Regions from separate parts of the Homo sapiens genome. Here regions 1 and 3 are each linked to region 2. Evidence: promoter capture Hi-C in 16 types of primary human blood cells and fetal thymus (Javierre and others, 2016). All regions are on one chromosome and are shown on one strand. Each heading gives the region's core, a stretch centred on a gene start or on the middle of the fragment in contact. The rest is flanking DNA. Distances are from core to core; before and after follow the strand shown. Region 1 overlaps SFMBT1 (Scm like with four mbt domains 1). Region 2 holds the start of ITIH1 (inter-alpha-trypsin inhibitor heavy chain 1). Region 3 overlaps SFMBT1 (Scm like with four mbt domains 1).

Region 1 (3,806 bases), core at 1,261-3,760, 250 kb after region 2:
TGTATTTTCAAGAGGATAATTATCAAAATGTAAATTTTCTAGACAGCCAATGAAGAAAGAAATTTAGAACTAGAAAAAATCTGGGAGTCCCATTCCCTTCATTTTTGGACTAAGGTAACAAAGCCCAGATATATAAATGAAGCCTGGTCATTCTTCAAGCATCAAAACATATTTCAGGCTGGGTGCAGTGGCTCACGCCTGTATCCTAACACTTTGGGAGGCTGAGGTGGAGGGATCACTTTAATTCAGGAATTTGAGACCAGCCTGGGCAATGTTGGGAGACTTTGTCTCTACAAAAAATTTTAAAAATTTAAAAATTAGCCAGGCATGGTGGCACACGCTTATGGTCCCAGCTACTTGGGAAGCTGAGGTGAGAGGTCACTTGCGCCCAGGAGGTAGATGATTCAGTGAGCCATGATTGTGCCACTGCACTCCAGCCTGGGTGACAGAGTGAACCCCGTCTTAAAAAAAGAAAAAAAAAGAAATTCAACACTGTGATGGAAATATTTCTAGAATATATTTTTACTTCCCTATCTTCTTAAAACAGAGACTCCTAAACATACTTCATCTTTGCCTTGGTAACTCTAGCCTCTCTAAAGAGCAACTATACCCAGCCCAGGTGTGATGCTGGACTTTGCTGACTGCTGCCTCCACTATGCAGCCCTAACAATCTCTACTCATCTTGCTCCCAGCTGATGGTGTCTGATCTACACGGAAGGCTGGAAAACAGTTAAGAACCATACATCAGCTTTGGTGCGGGAGCTTTATAACAATTATTGTCAGCACTTGAAAACTGATTTTGCTTTCTCTCAGTGTTGGGCTGTGTTTTGAAGAGCTAATATTGCGTGCAAATGGATGGGTTAAGTGATGTAAGCACATTGCTTCAGAAAAAGTTCTACCCCCAAATGCAACTGATCACTTTACAGAAAGTGTAGTTTTAAATTATTAAAAGCAAAATTAATTATCTGAAAAAATATTAACACCATAAACATCACTACATGAAAACACAAACTGCCACAGTAATGCTTATGTCTCAAGTAACAGCTTACAAGTATCAACAGTAAAGTAATAAGCTGTAATAAAAAGGCACTTCATCTCTTCAAAACCTGCTATCCCACCAAAATTCTCCAGTAAGTTAACATGAACTAAATTTTTGGTCCCTTTCCTAGCATTCTACCAAAATCAGTTTAATTTTTAAAATAATAAAAATATTTTATTGTACTAGAAAGGAAAGATTCTAAAAACACACAAAACCATAAGTCAAGACAGCAAACGACTCACACGTAGCCACTCAGTGAGGACAGTAAGTCTTCCTTAGCAATTAAAGAGCAAATAGAGGAACTCAACAGAGAATACAAAGTAAAAAGGCTGAGGCCCTTTAAGGATAGCTGGAATTCCTACCAAGCTGCATGTTCATGGCCACAAGTTAACAGAGTTTACCCTCCCTCCCTGTGCCCCCACAGCTGCTCACTGCAGTTACAGGTAGGTCCCTGTGGGGCTGCCTACAGTCCTAGATATAACAGCCCAGAGATCTGTGTGGTTGGTTCTTAGCCGCACTCTCAAAAAGGAAGAGCTGGCAAGAACCTCAACAAAATTAAATAATAGCTTAAGAAGGAGGCAGCGCTAAAGATAAAGGTTTGAGAAGGGATTTTTTTTCTTCCTTTAGAGACAGGGTTTTGCCCTGTCCCTGGAGAGGCTGGAGTAAGATGGTGCAATCACGGCTTACTGCAGCCTCGACCTCCTGGGTTCAGCCTCCCAAGTAGCTAAGACTACACAATCGTGCCACCGCACCTGGCTAATTTTTCAATTTTTTGTAGAGATGGGGTCTCGCTAGGTTGCCCAGGCTGGTCTCAAACTCCTCGTCTCAACTAATCCTCCCTCCTTGGCCTCCCAAAGTGCTAGGATTATAGGCATGACCCACCATGCCCAACAGGGAAGGGAATTCAAAAGAAAATTTCAGGGTTACTTTCTTATTTTACACTAGATGTTTCCTCTATTAAGACCTGAAATTTTTAGCTTATTAAAAATTCTTACACTAATAATACAATATAGAAGTATTCACAAATCACTAACTCACTGCCATTTACTCCTACAAAAAATCCTTTCTCAAAACAAAACTCTACAAATGTTAGCCCATTCCCCCACCCCCGTTAAAACACCTTCCATAGTAGACGCTTTACACTTTTTTGACAACACTTAAACACAAGTTCTGTATCATTTCCTATCCTGATTATAAGCTTCTCTAGGCCAGGGAACTTACTCAATTTTGCATTCCCTAAACCCCTGGCACCACTGCTTCATGTCACAGCTACTTAGTGTCTGCTAAATGAATTACTATGGTATCAGATCATGGCACCTCCAGTTCACTAATGAGAAAATTCAACTTTTTAACACAGCAATAACATTTCTGCCTCCAGGAATACTGTCATTTTCACAGGAGAAGGAAATTCAGTGATTCAGTGCCTACCATCTGCCCCAGAGGTCAGCTATTTCTGACAAGTCCTAGTGTGCACATGGGCCAATCAGGCTGCAGCTGCCTTTTTTCACAGGCATGGATGGAAGAATGAGAAAGGTCACTAAAGCAGAGTCCGTATGTAAATTCGTTAGGCATCATCCACAGGAAATTTGCTTCCTCTTAAAATCCTGTGAAATTAAAACATGCCTTTAAGCCATTGTTTCTTCCCCCTGTTCTTTAACCCATTTATGCTGGAGGTTGCAAATTTTTTTGTGTGAAAACTCAGACCTTGGTGATGACCTTGAGCACTATGATATAAATAACTCCCACAAGCTTAGCGTTCCAGTAATGGAACAGTAGGCATAAATGGGTTAAACTTTGGATAGTCCAACTTGCCAGGTTACCCCATTGTTTACAAAGCCTTTCACAGTACAAAAAACTTGATTAACCCTAATTGCCTGCTGACGTCTACGGTTGTTTCTTTTTCTCAGACCACTCTTTTTGAGACAGGGTCTTGCTCTGTCATCCAGGGTGGAGTGCAGTGGCTCGAACACAGCTCACTTGGAGGCAGATTCAAGTGATCTTCCTGCCTCAACCACCTGAGTAGCTGAGACTACAGGTGCACACCACCACACTCAACTAATTTTTGTATTTTTTGTAGAGACAGGGTTTTGTCATGTTGCCCATGCTGGTCTCGAACTCCTGGGCTCAAGCAATCCACCTGCCTTGGCCTCCCAAAATGCTGGGATTACAGGCATGAGCCACCATGCCTCGCTTTCAGACCACTTCTTGAAGTCACCTTAGTTCCATAAAACTTGTGTGTTGACATACAGTGTGATACTGTTTCTTTGCCACAAATTCAACTCTACAAGTCACATCTCTTTGTCTGCCTTCATGGGTCAAAACTACTTACTAGCTGGGCATGGTGGCACATGCTTGTACCACTAGTCCCAGCTACTCGGGAGGCTGAGATGGGAAAACAGCTTGAGTCCAGGAGTTGGAGGCTGTAATGTGCTATCATGATCATACCTGTGTATGGTCACTGCATTCCAGTCTGGGTGACATAGCAAGACCCCATCTTAAAAAAAAATTACCTGCTAGAACACAGAATAAATGGCAGAAAGAAGGCCATAGCAGAGCAAACACAACTCAGAAACGCCCAGTCTAGCACTCGTGGCTGGGAACCCTTGCAGGGAAGTGCACAAGTACTCTCAGAGGGGACCTGCCTGCCTGTCACTGGCTTGGTGTGAACACTCTCTGAGCAAGTCACAAGAGTTATGGGCTAGGCCGGGCGCGGTAGCTCATGCCTATAATCCCAGCACTTTGGGAGGCCAAGACAGGCAGATCACAA
Region 2 (4,199 bases), core at 1,498-3,997:
GCACAGGTCATAGTTAGCTCTCCCCATCTCCTGTCCACCCTCCCCCTGTGCAAACATGCTTCTAGCACTTTACATGGACCAGGCTTGGTGCTAGCCATCTCTCAACAGCCCAGTCTTGAACTCATCACACCCTTGCTTAAAATATCTTAAGTATCTCCCACCCAAAAGGCTAATCACTTTCAGACCCCTGCGCCAGCTGGTCCCAACCCCCTTCCCAGCCACCTTCCCTACCCTCTTCATCAGCTCCTGCTCCCATCCCAGACACCTCTACCTTCCCACAGCATACATCCCACCTGCCCGTCTGCTTTTCTCTCCCTCCCTTCCCGCCTTCCCCTTCCCAAGCACTGCTCTTTTTTCCAGGCACCTCATCCAGGAACCTTCTCCTAATCCCTGCAGGAGATGAGCCTCTGCCCCTCCAAATTTCTATCTCTTCAGCTTCTCATCACTCCTTGGGATTCAGTGGGCTCCCTTTGACTTGTCTGATTCCCTTTTCCCCTGACATCAGCTCACTGAACACAGCAGGGCACTCAGGTTTCTGTATGGTGGCCTCTCAGTGCCTGGCATTGTGCCCAACACACTGCAGGGCTTGGTCGATACTGGTGCAGGAAATAAGCAGAACTTCAAATGTACACTGTCATGTCGATCCAGCTTCTCTTCTACAAAGGCCAGAAGACAGGCCAGAAGGTGACCGTGGCCTAAGGACAATAAACTCTTCCCAGAAGCTGCTCTGTGAGACAAAGTCCAGGACAAGCAAACAGAGATCAGTGAGGGCTCTGGGCCCCCTCCTCTTATCAGGGTCACAGCAGCCAGCACATCCCAACCCAGGTCACAGACTAGACTGGCCAGGGGCCCTGTCTGCCCAGTATGCTGTGGTTTTTGGGGAACAGGGTGGGTTTGGCAATAAAAAAATAAGAAACTGCAGGTGCAAGATGGGTCTCTGGGAACTCCTGTCTCTAGGATCTTCAAGTCTGCTTCTCTGTCATTACATGATGGCCTTGGGCTTTAGAGCCTGAGAGACCTGGTTTGAATCCCTGTTCTGTCTCTTGGTATGGGGCCAGTGTCCCAGGAACGTTGCGAGGATAAAATTAGACAATAAAGGGTTTAGAGGAATGCATGACACAAATGAGTCCTCGATTATGAAAACATGTCATTCATCTTCAGCTCCCCTTTATCTGCCAGGCCTCCCTGCCCAGGTGCAGGAACGAGGAAGCTCACTTCTGTTCTTTCTAGAACTGGGTAAGAACCTCAGAGAGGTGAAGCAACTGGCCTAAAGCGCAGATCTCCCATCATGCCTCACCCCGACCGTCCAGACTGTCTCTGACAGAGCTAATACCAGGTTAGCACTGTGAGAATCACCAGCATGGCTGGATGTCACACACTTTCTAAGCCACCGTGTCTGCCTCCCTGGCCAAAGCATGACTGAAAAGTGTGTTGATGCTGAAAGAATTTTGAAACAGTCTGGGCAACAAAGTGAGACCCTGTTTCCCTCCCTTTCTTTTCTTTTTTCTTTTCTTTTCTTTTCTTTTTTCTTTTCTGTTCTTTCTTTCTCTGTCTCTCTTTCTTTTCTTTTCTTTCTTTCTTTTTGGAGACAGTCTCGCTCCGTCACCCAGGCTGGAGTGCAGTGGCACAATCTTGCCTCTCTGCAACCACCACTTTCCAGGCTCAAGCTATTCTCCTGCCTCAGCCTCCTGAGTAGCTGGAACCACAGACGCATGCCACCATACCTGGCTAATTTTTGTATTTTTGGTAGAGATGGGGTTTCACCATGTTGCCCAGGCTGGGCTGGAACTTCTGGCCTCAAGTGATCTGCCTCCCTCAGCCTCCCAAAGTGCTGAGATTACAGGCATGAGCCACCTCGCCCGACTGAAACCCTGTTTCAACAAAAAATAAAAATAATCAGCTGGGTGTGGTGCCACATTCCTGTGGTTCCAGGTACTCAGAAGGCTGAGGTGGGAAGATCAGTTGAGTCTGGGAGGTCGAGGCTGCAGTGAGCCAAGATCGCACCACTGTATTCCACCTGTGCGATAGAGGGAGACCCTGTCTTAAAAAAAAAAAAAAAAAAGAAATTTGAAAGTAAAGCCTGGCCGGGCCCAGTGGCTCACTCCTGTAATCCCAGCACTTTGGGAGGCTGAGGCGGGCAGATCACCTGAGGTCAGGAGTTCGAGACCAGCGTGGCCAATGTGGTGAAGCCGTCTTTACTAAAAATACAAAAATTAGCTGGGCATGGTGGTGTGCACCTGTAATCCCAGCTACTCGGGAGGCTGAGGCAGGAGAATCACTTGAACCCAGGAGGTGGAGGTTGCACTGAGCCAAGATCCTGCCACTGCACTCTAGCACTCAAGACCAAAACTCCATCTCAAAAAAAAAAAAGTAAAGCCTAATGAAGTTTAGAAATCCATTTTTAACTGTTGCTTCTTGCCACATGTCACCGTGTCACTGGTGCTGCCTTGTGCCAGCCCGAGGATGAGATGAGCCATCCGGGGATCCTCACAGTTCACATAGGCTAAGCGCAGTTCTACACAGAGGGACATGGTCTGGAGCCCCATCAGTAGTTTAACCACCCAGAGCTGGGAACCCCCCTGAGGCAAAAAGCTTCCACTGCCAAATTTTGATTCCTCTAAATGTGTTAGGTTGATGCAAAAGTCATTGCGGTTTTTGTCATTAATATTTGCCTGCACCTTGTCTAATGTTTAATCCATGTTTATCCAGCACTGTATTGATTACTGGTCTGACTGAGGTGACAGGGCAGCAGGAGCCTTAGAGCATGGACGGTGCCATGGGGCCTCGGGGGCTGCTGTTGTGCATGTACCTGGTATCTCTCCTCATCCTGCAGGCCATGCCTGCCCTGGGCTCGGCTACAGGCAGGTCCAAGAGCAGCGAGGTATATGGCTAAGCCCACAGGGCAGAAATAGGCAGCTGAACCTGGATGAGGCCCCGGGCGGGACACAAGACCCCCATTCAAGGGGCCAGGGTCACCCCCACCACCTCCACCACTTCTGAGTGGAGAGGTGACCTCCCAGCACCACCAAGGAGGTGAAGCTAAGGGGCAGAGGACACAGGCTGTGTTCCACTCCCATCCCTGAACTGGCAGGCCGGTGGTCCCCTGAGTTTTCCTCTCACACTTGACCCTGATTTTGTTTTGCAGAAGCGACAGGCTGTGGACACCGTGAGTAAGAGTCCTGGCAAAGGGGTCTGTGACAGAGCCCTTTTTACAGGCTTGCTTTCCCCAACCTGTCAGGGGTGGACCCCTCTATCAGGGCCATAGGCATGGGGTACTCTCCAGGGTCCTAGAAATGGGGACTTGTTCCCATCTCACCTCATATCCCACAGCACGGTCTCAGCCAGAGAGCAGGGGTCTTCCTGCGGTCTGTTCTTCCTGCATCTGGGCACCATGCACTGGGGCTAAGTGCCAAGTCCCCGTACCACAGGAAGTCCCTCGCTGACAGAGGCCCTGTCTCAGGCCACAGCTCCTTCATGTCTCACTTTAGGCTGTCGATGGCGTGTTCATCCGGAGTTTGAAAGTCAACTGCAAAGTCACCTCTCGCTTCGCCCACTATGTTGTCACCAGCCAAGTGGTCAACACTGCCAATGAAGCCAGGGAAGTGGCCTTCGACCTGGAAATCCCCAAGACAGCATTCATCAGTGACTTTGCCGTGTGCGTGCCTGCCCAACTCCCATGCCTTCTCCCAGGGGTGCCGCTTACTAGTCCCAGCTTAAGAACAAGGATCGGAGTGGCCAGATAACGCAGAGCATCTCCTCATTCTAGAAGGGCCACAGACCAGCCCTGGCTTTGAGGGGAGGAAGAAGCCCTTTAGGTCTGTGCTTGGCTCCCATCTTGGAGGCAAACTGGGACCCATCACAGCATGTTTCAGGCTAGAACCCAAGGAGCCAAGGCCAGAGTCTGAGGCTTCTTGCTGGCCTCTGACCTGGGCTGCTCACCTCATTGCCCATGGACCCCTGAGTTCCACCATGGGCAGTGGAAGGCTCGTCAGGAGACGTCCTTATCCAAGGGCTCACATGGACAGGCCCTCTCAGGACCTGTGTGGTCAGGAGGCTCATCTTTCCTGAGGGTGTCCTTCCCTCCCTGCAGTACAGCAGATGGAAACGCATTTATCGGAGACATAAAGGACAAGGTGACTGCATGGAAGCAGTACCGGAAAGCAGCTATCTCAGGAGAGAATGCCGGCCTTGTCAGGTGA
Region 3 (4,187 bases), core at 225-2,724, 140 kb after region 2:
AGGATTCTGGATGATCAATGATTTCTTTTCCAGGTCTTCAAAAACCAACTTTCAATCATCTATTCTGGAATATTTATAGAAATTGTTGAATATTATTGAGAATTAGTTTGTCTCCTAAAAACCACCAAACTAATATGTTGGCAGCCTTTGATGTTGTGAGAGCAATCCCATCTCTGAGATTTCTCAGAGGGCTAAAAGTATGCTGTGACCACATCTCTAAGTTTTTTTTGTACTGTGGGGTATAACTGGGTCTGGAGACCCTTTTCTTCAACTATTTGTCTGTATCAATACTGTCCTTCAATTTAATGTTTTTAAAAAATCCCCTCATAGTGGTAGGCATGTCAGCTGTTGAATGTAAAAAATTCAAAGACACTAAAATACTGCTATAAAGCACAGAGAAGCTCTTCTAATAGATATGCCTGTTAATCCAATGTTAAGGAAAGATATGCGCACACTGCCCATTGTTGATAGGATCCTGCAGTTCATAATGTTTTCTCTTTAATTAAGAATAGTCACAGCCAGGTGTTGTGGCTCATGCCCGTAATCCCAGCAATTTGGGAGGCCAACGGGGGAGCACATCGCTTGAGTCCAGTTTGAGACCAGCCTGGGTAACACAGTGAAGCCCCATCTCTACAAAAAACAAAAACAAAAACAAAAACAAAAAAATCAGCCACATGTGGTGGCATATGCCTGTAGTCCCAGCTACTCGGGAGGCTGATGTAGGAGGACAGCTTGAGCCCAGGAGGTGGAGGTTGCAGTGAGCTGATATCACTGCACTGCACTCCAGCCTGGATGACACAGCGAGACCCTGTCTCAAAACAAAACAAAACAAAAAAACGATGGTCTATCATAGTGGCCAGTATGCTGGTGCTCACATTTCCAGTTGAACCCTGCAACCCAAATGCCTCTTTTCAGAATTAAGGCACTCATACCCCTGCTGCTGGGTATGTTGGCAGCTTACAGTTCCCAGTTTTATGTCTATTCTGGAATCACCCTGAACTGGGTACTGCTCTCAGCAGGAGAGGGCCACCTTGCCCCTTGTGAGGTGGGGAGGGAGCAGTGGCTTACTTCCAATAACTGGTCAGTAAAGTGTGGCCACCACACCTGAATTAGGATCAACTCTGAGTGGTTAGATCAGCTTCAGGGCTCCCAGTGGAACTAGAAGAAACTTCTGTTGCAACTGCATCATGGTTCAACTTATCTCTCTGCCCAATCCTACTTCCTTTACTCCTTCTAAGGAGCTGTTCCCAAAAATACTCCCCAATGAAACTCCTGAATGCATATGTCAGAGTCTCAGACTCTGTTTCCCAGGGAACCTGACCTATGACAAAACCCAAACCAAAAGGCCTTGGCTGAGGTTGTGCAGAAGATATTAATGTCTTAAATTCTGTGGTTTCAGTAGGCATTCGAATGGCCAGGAAAGCATCAAAAGCAAGGAGTTACACAGTCCTAACCCTCTATGTACAAATGATGTAATGAAAAGGCAGTAGGTACAAGAGACGGAAGTACGGGTTTCTAATTTGTGAAAGACTTCAGTTTCATTTCTGGTCTTTCTACTCATAAGCTGTGTGATCTCTCTGAGCTTCGATTTCTCTTCTAGGCATTTACTAAATATCACCCAAATGCGCAATCTGTGCTAGAATACACACAGCCAGGATGCTAAACATTACACAACAAGCACGTGGAAGTTAAGAATAGTTCAAGAGAGGACCCTGGACAAAAGGCTTGAACCTCCAGCAAGGATTTTTCTCTCATTTATCAGGCATTAATTGCCTCTGGGACAATTTCTTTTTCCATTGCTTTATTTTTTTCACATAAACTGTGAAATTTATATACAAAGTATGCATATCATAAAAAAGGGTTTTAAAAAGAATAAACTTCTACCTCTCAACCATCTAGCTTAAGAAAGAACACTGCCTGGAAAACTTCAGGTTCTTTAGCTAAAGTCAAGGATGGTAACATTGGCCTTCTGAGCCGTTGGCACACAACGGTTGATCAGTAAAGAATAGCTACAATTATTAGAAATGGACGGAACTATCAGCCTAGAGATGATTATTAAACTAAACACATCTTAGACAGTTATAACTCTAAAGTCACAATTAAGAGACCCCTCTATGAAGACACATACTATACATCAAATGTACTGTTTTAAGTTATTTTCAGATATAGTCCATTAAAAGAAACTAAGTCTTCTTTTCCTTAAGATGACATGTGCTTATACCTGACTCTGTGGAGTTCAGCTCCTGATTCCTCAGGCCCTCGTGGACAGTCCTCGAGGATGGTACTCTGGGTCAAGAAAACACAGTAAAATAGTGAGATAATTCTTAAGATCAGTAAAGTGTGAGGCTTAGTTTCCTTCAAATCTAAGAAGAAAGCAAATGTGGCATGTTCGCAAAATCTGTAACAGAAGGTACTCCCTTGATGATACTTTTTTTTTTTTTTTTTTTTTTTAAAAGAACAAGGCTGGATGCGGTGGCTCACGCGTAATCCCAGCACTTTGGGAGGCTGACGTGGGCGGGTCACAAGGTCAGGAGATTGAGACCATCCTGGCTAACACTGTGAAACCCCGTCTCTACTAAAAATACAAAAAATTAGCTGGGCATGGTGGCAGGCACCTGTAGTCCCAGCTACTAAGGAGGCTGAGGGAGGAGAATGGCGTGAACCCAGGAGGCAGAGCTTGCAGTGAGCCGAGATCGTGCCACTGCACTCCAGCCTAGGCAACAAAGCAGGACTCTGTGTCAAAAAAACCAAACAACAACAACAACAACAACAACAACAAAAAACTACAACAACAAAAAAGAACAATTGTTTTTAAAACTATATATAGGGCATAATGAGCCAATGGACAGTCTGTATATAGCATTGTGATACTACATGTTCAAACTTTCTCTTCATTCACTGGGCAAAAAAATTACAAAATTTCTTGTGAGATGCTTAAATCACAAATAAACTACTCATTTTTCAACAGTCAAAGAACAGAAACTTTATATAGGGTTCGTTTTCTTCGTCCATCAGTTTTCAAATTAAAGACAAATTATGTTATTTAAAAAAAAACAGAGGCTTATTCTGTATGTAGCAATCACTGAAAAAAGGCTAATTTATCTTTTAGAATGCATCCTAACTAAAGCTTTGGATCAGTTTTGGCAACTAAGTCAAGGAAAAATCCAAGGTCAGTCTTTTTTTTCATTGTTACCTCACTTCTCTACTTGGTATAAATGTCTATGGCCTTTCTCTCCACTTCTGTTGTTAGTTTTATTACCCACATAGTTACAAAGGTTTAGGTAGTTATAGAATTTGCTATATACAGAATTGTTTCCTCCTACTCAAATTCATATGTTGAAGCCCTAGTGCTCAGTGTAACTGTATTCGAAGATAGGGCCTTGGGGAAGTAATTAAGATTAAATGAGGTCATAAGGGTAGGCTATAATCCAATAGCATTGATAGCCTTACAGGAAGAGAGGGGTCGGGGGGTGCCGGGGAGAGAAAGATTTTTCCACCATGCAAGGACACAGCCAGAAGACAGCCATCTGCTAGCCAGGGAGAATGCCCTCACTAGGAAGCAATCTACCAGCACCTTGATCTTGGATTTTCCAGCCTCCAGAATGTAAGAAAATAAATTTCTGTGGTTTAAAGCAGGGGTCCCCAACCCCAGGGCCACGGACCAGTACCCGTCTATGGCCTGTTAGGAATGGGGCCGCACAGCAGGCAAGGGAGCATTACGGCCTGAGCTCGGCCTCCTGTCACATCAGCAGCAGCATTAGATTCTCACAGGAGTGTGAACCCCATTGTGAACTGTGCATGTGAGGGATCTAGATTGCATGCCCCTTAGGATAATCTAATGCCTGATGATCTGAGGTGGAACAGTTTCATCCCAAAACCATTCCCCACCCCAGTCTGTAGAAAAACTGTCTTCCACGAAACCGGTCCCTGGTGCCAAAAACGTTGGGGACCGCTGGTTTAAAGCCACCGAGCCTGTGGTATTTTGTATGGCAGCCCCAGCAGATTAATAGAGAATTCAACACCCAATGTTTTAAAACACACATATACACACAGAAACATTTGTACTTTTAAGGTTTGAAGGCACTACTAATTAACTGTTTCTCAAAAGCTGTGTGTGCAGGTATGTTACAAACGAAGAATTTCTTGATGGGCACAAAGCCACTCCTTTGAATGTGCCTTTTCTTTTA

The links. The method cuts DNA at HindIII sites, captures the fragments that hold promoters and counts their contacts. A CHiCAGO score of 5 or more calls a contact.
Region 1: a fragment that was not itself captured here is called in contact with the fragment with the promoter of ITIH1 in region 2 in 1 of 17 cell types (endothelial precursors); the score reaches 5.2 in endothelial precursors.
Region 3: a contact is called between a fragment that was not itself captured here and the fragment with the promoter of ITIH1 in region 2, in 1 of 17 cell types (M0 macrophages). The highest score is 5.0, in M0 macrophages.

What each region holds. Positions count from the first base shown.
Region 1 is chr3:53,025,151-53,028,956 of GRCh38, forward strand. All of the region lies in intron 1 of SFMBT1 (Scm like with four mbt domains 1), which reads right to left. Among named protein-coding and RNA genes, the nearest start is that of SFMBT1, 19 kb to the right of the region's middle. The HindIII fragment of the contact is 551 bases long and covers 2,236-2,786 here.
Region 2 is chr3:52,774,852-52,779,050 of GRCh38, forward strand. ITIH1 (inter-alpha-trypsin inhibitor heavy chain 1) reads left to right here and starts at 2,748. Exons shown (of 22, transcript NM_002215.4): 1 at 2,748-2,881; 2 at 3,146-3,166; 3 at 3,489-3,655; 4 at 4,091-4,195. The coding sequence starts at 2,765. RefSeq lists an enhancer at 3,381-4,199. The HindIII fragment of the contact is 3,325 bases long and covers 2,591-4,199 here.
Region 3 is chr3:52,913,929-52,918,115 of GRCh38, forward strand. SFMBT1 (Scm like with four mbt domains 1) reads right to left here. Exons shown (of 21, transcript NM_016329.4): 14 at 2,222-2,286. Among named protein-coding and RNA genes, the nearest start is that of STIMATE-MUSTN1, 18 kb to the left of the region's middle. The HindIII fragment of the contact is 3,302 bases long and covers 1-3,125 here.